2 separate regions of the Homo sapiens genome follow, and region 1 is linked to region 2. Evidence: promoter capture Hi-C in human tissues and cell types (Jung and others, 2019). All regions are on one chromosome and are shown on one strand. Each heading gives the region's core, a stretch centred on a gene start or on the middle of the fragment in contact. The rest is flanking DNA. Distances are from core to core; before and after follow the strand shown.

The links. Contacts are between HindIII fragments. The study calls those that stand out against the background at their distance.
Region 1: a contact is called between a fragment that was not itself captured here and the fragment with the promoter of FBXO40 in region 2, in 3 of the 25 tissues and cell types used here (liver, lymphoblastoid cells and thymus).

The regions. Positions count from the first base shown.
Region 1 is chr3:122,071,147-122,075,758 of GRCh38, forward strand. The region is part of intron 1 of CD86 (CD86 molecule); the gene reads left to right. Among named protein-coding and RNA genes, the nearest start is that of CD86, 18 kb to the left of the region's middle. RefSeq lists an enhancer at 3,550-3,889. The HindIII fragment of the contact is 6,239 bases long and covers 1-4,612 here.
Region 2 is chr3:121,590,907-121,595,609 of GRCh38, forward strand. It overlaps FBXO40 (F-box protein 40), which reads left to right and starts at 2,473. Exons shown (of 4, transcript NM_016298.4): 1 at 2,473-2,596. LOC124906360 (small nucleolar RNA U13) reads left to right here and starts at 388; the gene lies at 388-488. RefSeq lists enhancers at 1,830-3,029, 1,843-2,493, 2,494-3,145 and a silencer at 2,416-2,710. The HindIII fragment of the contact is 12,396 bases long and covers 1-4,703 here.

The DNA.
Region 1 (4,612 bases), core at 1,191-3,690, 480 kb after region 2:
ATTTACATTAAGTTTCTCTCTTTGGGTTGTACAGTTCTATGGATTTTGACAAATACACAATGTCATGTATCCACCATTATAGTATCATACAGAATAGCTTCACTGCCCTAAGAATCCCCTGTGCTCTGCCTGTTGACCCTTCCCACCCCTCCCCAACCCCTGGAAACCACTGATCTTTTTACTGTCTCCACAGTTTTGCCTTTTCCAGAATGTTCTATCTTTGGAATCATACAGTATGTACCCTTTTCAGATTGACTTCTTTCATTAAGCAATATGAATTTAAGTTTTCTCCATGTCTTTTCACATCTTGATGGCTCATTTCTATTTATTACCACATAATATTCCATTGTCTGGATATACCACAGCTTTACCAACTGAGGGGCATCTTAGTTGCTAATTATGAATAAAGTGGCTATACATATTCACGTGTAGGTTTTGTGTGGACATAAGTCTTCAATTCAATTGAGTAAATATACCTAGAAGTGTGACTGCTGGATCATATGGTAAGAGTATATTTACTTTTTTAAGAAACTGCTAAACTATATCCCAAAGTAGTTTTACCATTTTGCATTCTTTTCTTTATTTTTTTTTTATTATACTTTAAGTTTTAGGGTATGTGTGCACAATGTGCAGGTTAGTTACATATGTATACATGTGCCATGTTGGTGTGCTGCACCCATTAACTCATCATTTAGCATTAGGAGGTAAATCTCCTAATGCTATCCCTCCCCCCTCCCCCCACCCCACAACAGTCCCCAGAGTGTGATGTTCCCCTTCCTGTGTCCATGTGTTCTCATTGTTCAACTCCTATCTATGAGTGAGAACATGCGGTGTTTGGTTTTTTGTCCTTGCGGTAGTTTACTGAGAATGATGATTTCCAATTTCATCCATGTCCCTACAAAGGACATGAACTCATCATTTTTTATGGCTGCATAGTATTCCATGGTGTATATGTGCCATATTTTCTTAATCCAGTCTATCATTGTTGGACATTTGGGTTGGTTCCAAGTCTTTGCTATTGTGAATAGTGCCACAATAAACATACGTGTGCATGTGTCTTTATAGCAGCATGATTTATAGTCCTTTGGGTATATACCCAGTAATGGGATGGCTGGGTCAAATGGTATTTCTAGTTCTAGATCCCTGAGGAATCGCCACACTGACTTCCACAATGGTTGAACTAGTTTACAGTCCCACCAACAGTGTAAAAGTGTTCCTATTTCTCCACATTCTCTCCAGCACCTGTTGTTTCCTGACTTTTTAATGATTGCCATTCTAACTGGTGTGAGATGGTATCTCATTGTGGTTTTGATTTGCATTTGTCTGATGGCCAGTGATGGTGAGCATTTTTTCATGTGTCTTTTGGCTGCATAAATGTCTTCTTTTGAGAAGTGTCTGTTCATATCCCTTGCCCACTTTTTGATGGGGTTGTTTGTTTTTTTCTTGTAAATTTGTTTGAGTTCATTGTAGATTCTGGATATTAGCCCTTTGTCAGATGAGTAGGTTGCAAAAATTTTTTCCCATTTTGTAGGTTGCCTGTTCACTCTGATGGTATTTTCTTTTGCTGTGCAGAAGCTCTTTAGTTTAATTAGATCCCATTTGTCAATTTTGGCTTTGGTTGCCATTGCTTTTGGTGTTTTAGACATGAAGTCCTTGCCCATGCCTATGTCCTGAATGGTAATGTCTAGGTTTTCTTCTAGGGTTTTTATGGTTTTAGGTCTAATGTTTAAGTCTTTAATCCATCTTGAATTGATTTTTGTATAAGGTGTAAGGAAGGGATCCAGTTTCAGCTTTCTGCATATGGCTAGCCAGTTTTCCCAGCACCATTTATTAAACAGGGAATCCTTTCCCCATTGCTTGTTTTTCTCAGGTTTGTCAAAGATCAGATAGTTGTAGATATGCGGCCTTATTTCTGAGGGCTCTGTCACTATACATCTACTAGAATGGGTAAAATCCAAAAATCTGACAATACCAAATGCTGCTGAGGATGTGGAGCAACAGGAAGCCTCATTGCTCCACATCCTCAGCAGCATTTGGTATTGTCAGATTTTTGGATTTTAGCCATTCTACTAGATGTGTAGTGGTATCTTACTGTTTTAATTTGCAATTCTCTAATGAGGTATGATGCTGACCACCTTTTCATATGCTTATTTGCTGTCCGTGTACCTTCTTTGGTGAGGTATATGTTCAGATCTTTTGCTCCTTATTAAATTGGGCTGTTTGTTCTTTTATCTTTGAGTTATAAGAGTTCATTGTGTATTTTGGATACCAGCCCTTTATCAGATATATCTTTTGCAAATATTTTTTCCCCAATCTTTGGCGTGTCTTTTTATTCATATAATGGTTGATACATGTTTCTGCTTTAAGGAGGAAGGGTTTTAAAAATACAATTTACAGTAGCAGTAAAAATAAAAATTTATTGCAAATGTCTTATGTTCACTCTCAGGTGATGTCAGGGAACTATGGACCCAGCAGGGTTTAATTAAAGGGGAGTGTCAAGTCCTGGGGGCTGTGGTTGACAATCCTCCTTTATTGGCAATTGTGCAGCAGGGCTGGGAGTAAGAAGACAACCCAGTCCTGAGCTGCATCACTTCTAAATTAAGAATAATTCAGGAACTGTGTTTACGGTGAAATCCTGGCCCTTCTCACATAGATTATATTATGCATAGGATATGAATTTCTGTCCATGAATCCAAGTATATATGAAATCATCACTTTGAAAATTTCCTTTAACTCAACTTAATCCCACTGGTGAGCCTCAATCCTGCCAGTTGAAAAAGAGACTGTAACTGGGTCATGCAGGAGTCTCCTTCCTTTCCTGCAGCCCAGTCAGAATTCAAGAAGTTCACCTGGTAACTGGAAAATGATGGAAGGGCCTCAAGTCCCTAGTCTGTCCTGGTTGCCATTGGCACCCTTACTATCTGAGCCCATAGTGGTCTGTGAAGTCCGGCAGCTCCCTGCCCCCATGCCACAGTGGGGAATGAGAATATCTACTGATGCTGGGCCCCATGAGCAAAGCATGCTGCCTTTCTAGGCATGAGCCATCACACCTGAGGTTGCTACCCCCTCGGGAGCACTGATGGAGGGGCAGTTGGGTTTCTACTGCTCACAGGACCCAGACAACCATCCCCTGCCCTCCCTTCTTCTTGCACTTCAAAAGCACTCTCTTCCTCTCTTTTCACCTCTAAGCCACCGGTATCATCTCTTCCATGGGCTTTCACAAAAGTCTGGATGAACCTTTGAACTTGTATCTCTTCTGCTTTCCCCCTTGCATCAAGAAAGCTTAGAAAACAAACACTAATTAACGTTTCAATAAATAATGCTGCTCTAATTATTTGTGGAAACTATTCTGTATTAGAACTACCATCAGCACCGCCTCCTAGAGTGCTTTTAGACTTGACCACTGGCCGCAGGAGGCCACTTCCATATAACAACAAACAGATGGCTGAAATTGGAAAACTCAGCTAAATGTTCAGATGTTTCTAGACTCCCACGGGTTTCTGGCTCTGGCACATGGAGTAGATCCTGACTGTGTGGTCCTCAGGGGACTCTCTCTGGTGAAGTTTGGTGAGGTCAACTTCCACACCCACACACACCAGCTACTGTGTGTAGCCTGTCCTCCTCTGGTTGCTTCTACTTGCAGCCTTGGCCTCTTCAGTCCTGAGAGCGTTGGAGAATGAGGCAGTGGAGGAAGCAGCCCCACACAGAAAGCAGTTTCTGAAGTAACCTCAGCAACTTCCTCCTCACCAAACACAAGGAACTGATCTTCTCCACTGGGCTCGGCCTCTGGTCAGCCAAGGACAACACTGTTGACCACCATCACGGTTGGCCCCACTCCACCCTTGGCTCTGATGACATATGTGGGAGTCAGAGGAATTTTGATTGGCTGACTGCTGGCCTGTCACACAAACAAGATGGGGCAAGGGGGTTGCGATATGACTTGACATGTGAAAAAAAAAAAAGCCGTGGTCAGCAACCCCCTGCAACTGTTGAAAGGCTAATTCAATCTCTGACTCTTTAACAAAAGTGATCTTGTTCACTGCCTGTTCTGCCCTGAGAGCCTTCTCTGCTAGGAGGTAGGTTGACTGACTCAGGGAGAAGGGTGCTGGTGGCAGAGCTGCCAATGGGTGAGGGTCCTAGAGACTATCGACATGAGGGGCAGTTGAGAACACTGTAGTATTTAGCTGAGAGGAGAGACTATTAATAAAATTTACAAAATCAGCTTTCAGCTATTTGGAAGGGTTTATATAAAAGGATAAAATAATATGTTCTGGTAGTTCTAGAAAACAGGACAGAGACAAGTAGCTGGTACTTATGGATTGGAGGAGTGAGTGGCAGTAGTTTGGGGATTATTTATAAAAAAGACATTTTTCTGTTAACTCTCTTTTCTAATAGTGAATTTCCCAACCTGACAAGTAAGAAAGCACAGGCTAGACACGCATCTGTCATGACACTGAAGGGGTCCTTGCTTGAGTGAGAGACTGGAATGATGAGTTTTGAGGTCCCTTACAGTCCAGCAACTCTAGCTAAGTTGGAGAATAAGAGAATTCCATGACACCATATCACCCCCTCATTTCTGCTGCCTGCCTCACCATTCATCTCTCTTTACTCC
Region 2 (4,703 bases), core at 1,223-3,722:
ATAGTGAGTATCCCCTATTGGAAATGCTTGGAACCAGAAGCGTTTCAGATTTGGAGTTTTTGGAATATTTGCACATACATAATGAGATATCTTGGGGATGGGACACCAGCCTAAACACAACTCATTTATGTTTCATATACACCTTATATACATAGCCTGAAGGTAATTGCACAATATTTTAAGTAACTCTGTGGATGAAACAAAGTTTCGAGTGCGTTTTGACTATGACCCACCATATGAGGCCAAGTGTGGAACTTTCCTCTTGTGGTGTCACATCAGCACTCAAATAATTTTGGATTTTAAAGCATTTTGGAATTCAGATTTCAGATTGGGGATACTCAACCTGTAATACCTCTTCTGAATATAGACGCAAAAATCCTCAATAAGATCCTTTTGTAGTTCATGAATGTGATGATTGGGCATTCACGTGGATGTGTGAGTGCTACCCTCGAAGCTTGTTTCAACATTGGCACATTATGCATCTGACTTGAAAAAACAAATTCTCAATAAAATACTAACAAACTAAATTTAGCAACATATAAAAAGGATAGATACCATGACCAAGTAGGGTTTATTCAGGAATGGAAGATTGATTCAACATAAAAAAATTCATCAATGTAATACACGATATTAATAGAATAAAGGACAAAAACCACATGATCATCTTGCTGGGCACAGAAAAAGCATTTGATGAAGATCCACACTCTTTCTTGATTCACTCAACAAACTAGAACAAACTATCAAACTCCTCTCCTTCAACTTGATAAAGGCCATCTACAAAAATCCACAGGTAACATTGTACTTATTGGTGGAAGACTGAATGCTTCCCCCCTAAGATCAGGAACAAGTGAAGTGTGGCCACTCTCACCACTCTTGTTAAACATAGTGCTGGAAGTTCTAGGCAGGGAAAAACAGCAAGAAAAGGAAGTTAAAGGCATCCAAATCGCAAAGAAAGAAGTTAAAATATTTTTGTTAACAGATGGCATGGTCTTGAAAATCCTAAGGAATCCACAAGAAAACTATTAGAACTAATAAACCAGTTCAGCAAAGTTTCAAGATACAAGATCAGTGTAGAAATTTTTTACAATTTTCAACTGCTATTTGCTCATTCCAAATAAGTTTACCTCCAAGGACATATATGTATGAAGAATCCAGGGGAAAGGTTAATTCGATGGCTGTTAATCACAGCCAAATTTAGCACATCTGCTGTTAGTCAAAATACATTCAAATACATTCAAATAACAGCTGGCATTGTGGAGCACTTGGCATGTGGTACATATCATTCATGTGCCTTATGTGTACTGACACAGTTACCTGTGGTCGCACCAAGTATCATCGCCATTTCACAATGGGGAAAACTGAAATAGAAAATGGTTAAGTAAATTTGTCAAAATCACATACCTAATCCCAGCACTTTGGGAGGCTGAGGTGGGAGGATCATGAGGTCAGGATTTCGAGACCAGCGTGACAAACATGGTGAAACCCCGTCTCTGCTAAAAATACAAAAATTAGCCAGGTATGGTGGTACGTGCCTGTAATCCCAGATACTCAGGAGGCTGAGGCAGGAGAATCACTTGAAGCCAGGAGGTGGAGGTTGCAGTGAGCCGAGATCACGCCACTGCACTCTATCCTGGGCAACAGAGCGAGACTCTGTCTCAAAAAAAAAAAAAAGAAAAAGAAAACACCAAAGCCGGGATTCTATATTTTTTTCACTCACAAGATCCTGAATGAGTTTATCTGAAGATGATAAGATAAAGAACGCTAGACTGAGAGTTAAACAAGCTCTCTGGGGCTTTCCTCTGGCTCTTCCACTAACGAGATGTGTGACCTTGGATGAGCAATTTCCCTTTTCTGAATCTCTGTCTCCTCATCTGTAAAAAGAGGGAGCTGGACTAAATGACAGCTAAAGCCTCCTACAACCTCTAATTCTCTCACACTGGATTTACTCTACACCTGGTATCTGAATTACAAACTCTCCCTTTTCCAGGAAAGATGAAAGGACCAGGGGAGGACAGACACTTACTTGTCACGACAAGAGATAGGAGAAACTGAAGCAGGACACCATGTCATTTGCACAAGTTGCTGCTTCAGCCAGTGATGGGTTTAGGTGAGGAGCATGGTTATAATTAGAGCAGCAGCCAGTCCTGAAGGCTGTGCCAGCCTCCTTCAGCACAGCTGGGCCTGCCGACTGCACATGCAGGAATCTGAGAGGCTGTTCTGGCCTTGAAAATGATCCTTCTTAAAAGGATTTTCCTCCTTCCTCAAGGGAAAGAAAACCTATTGATATAAAACTTCACTTCCCATTCAGTTTCCCCTGCTAAATGCCACTCCAGTAGAGACTGAGTGTTGATAAATACAGGGGAAGGAAAAAGTCGTAAGCTGAGCCTGGTCACATTGCCCCTTGTGATATCGTTTTATTTTTAACTTCGCAACACTTGGACTATTTCTGTTGAAGTTTTCTCTCCTTTCCCTGCCTTCCCAACAGAACGCTGTCCTCTACTGCAGCTGATGCAACCCAGCCACCTCCCGGCAATCCGCTTACTTGCAATCAAGGGTTCAGGTGCAAGCAGATGCTGACTCAGCCTGTTCCATTAAGGTAAGTATTCAAACAGGAGCAGGTGCACCATGACGAGGACATTCAGTGGTGAATATGCAGATGAAGCTGAGCCGCATATCACTTTTGTGTCCTGTGGAAGAGGATTGTTAAGCAAATTAGTTATGTAAAGATGTGGGGGAAAGGCTGGCACTGAGAATGAGATCCAGCCGTGTGTAAATTTCTGTTTCCATTTCAAGAGCAGGTAGAGTACTTGCTTTCTGACAGCTTAGGTTCTTTCTTCTATAATCAACAAGAGTAGTTATGATATCTGTAAAGTTACAACATGGTGATGGGTGGGGGGATCTGGGGAAGTGGAGGAGGTGGTGAGGAAACAAGTGGAAGGCCTAGAATCCAGGATTTCTATTCCCTTTTCTTTCTTTTTTGAGACAGTCTTGCTCTGTCACCCAGGCTGGAGTGCAGTGGCACCATCTTGGCTCACTGCAGCCCCTACCTCCCAGGTTCTAGTGATTCTCCTGCCTCAGCCTTCCGAGTAGCTGAGACTACAGGCACATGCCACCACATCCGGCCAATTTTTGTATTTTTTTAGTAGAGACAGAGTTTCACCTTGATGGCTAGGCTGGTCTTGAACTCCTGGCCTCAAATGATCCGCCCACCTCAGCCTCCAAAAGCGCTGGGATTACAGGTCTGAGCCACTGTGCCTGGCCCAGAATTTCTATTATTTATTTATTTATTTAATTCATTGTTATTATTTTTTTGAGACAGAGTCTCACTCTGTTGCCCAGGCTGGAGTGCAGTGGTGCAGTCTCAGCTCACTGCAACCTCCACCTTCTAGGTTCAAGAGAGCCTCCTGCTTCAGCCTCCTGAGTAGCTGGGACTACAGGCCTGTGCCACCACGCCTGGCTAATTTTTGTATTTTTAGTAGAGATGGGGTTTCACCATGTTGGCCAGGCTGGTCTTGAACTCCTGGCCTCAAGTGATCCACCCGCTTCGGCCTCCCAAAGTGCTGAGAATACAAGCATGAGCCGCTGTGCCTGATCAGAATTTCTGTTTTCTAAAGTCTAAATGCTGTGATCTTTTCTCCAGTCAACATTTGCTATGTTTGCTTGCAAGTCATTCTCATGTAGCTTAAAATTTCGTCTGCTGTGTCATACTACTGGTTAATAAGCACAACTGTATTTTCTGTATATACTATTCAAACTCCGCAGAGTTTAACACCTTTTTTTCGCCAACAATATTCTCTAAGTGTGGCCCTCTTCTCCCCAGCTCTCTTGAGTCCAAAATGCATCCATGAAATATAAGTGAAATATTTCTCAAGTTGAAAAACTTATATAGGCTTATGCACCAAAACCAAAGATTGTTACAAGCTTGAACAATTTTGCATATTCAGAGGGATAAAAGTAAAATGACTAATGATACTTGAGGTATCAAAAGTTATAACTTTAGACAGATAGTTTCTCGCTTCTGGAATAACTGTATAGTGTTGCATGCACTAAAAATTGGCAAGGTAAGGGAGCAGTGTTTATTTTCTTGTTTTTCACTGGTTCAAAGTTCAGCTAAGGACATCCTGGGAAGTGGCCTATGCAGCAAAAGGGATTCTGTACACTCTGACCTTTGATGTGTACAGGCTAAAGCCACCGATGCCAAGTAAAAGGAGACCTAAACTAACTATTCAGATACCTTAACTCCTGGTTCCTTCCTGCCTGTCTCTGTAACCTCCATATGTACCCCAAGACTCTGCTATAGGTGTCTGGGTTATCATTATGCCTGTTTCCTGGGCACAAGCAAATTCACTGTGTATAATCACCTAACTTCATTTAATTTTTCCAGGGCCTCCACAGCACCAAGGTCTCCAAGGTGTATGCTGGGATGCTGTCCTGGTGAAACTAGGGTGTGTTGGCTTACAAGTAACCAAGCAGACAGATTGAGTCCCAGCTACCCCTAGATAATCCAGTTACTTTAGCACTATCTTGGCCAATGCAACTGTAATTTAATAGAATAGTACTGATACAAAAGCACCAGATATAAGAATTAACTAGCTAATTCAATAACTAATAAGTATAAAGTTAGAGAGATTTCTAGTATAGGTGGAAAACTTCAGATTGTGAAGTGGAATGGATCTGGGAGAGGGTGGTTCTGTTTTAGGATA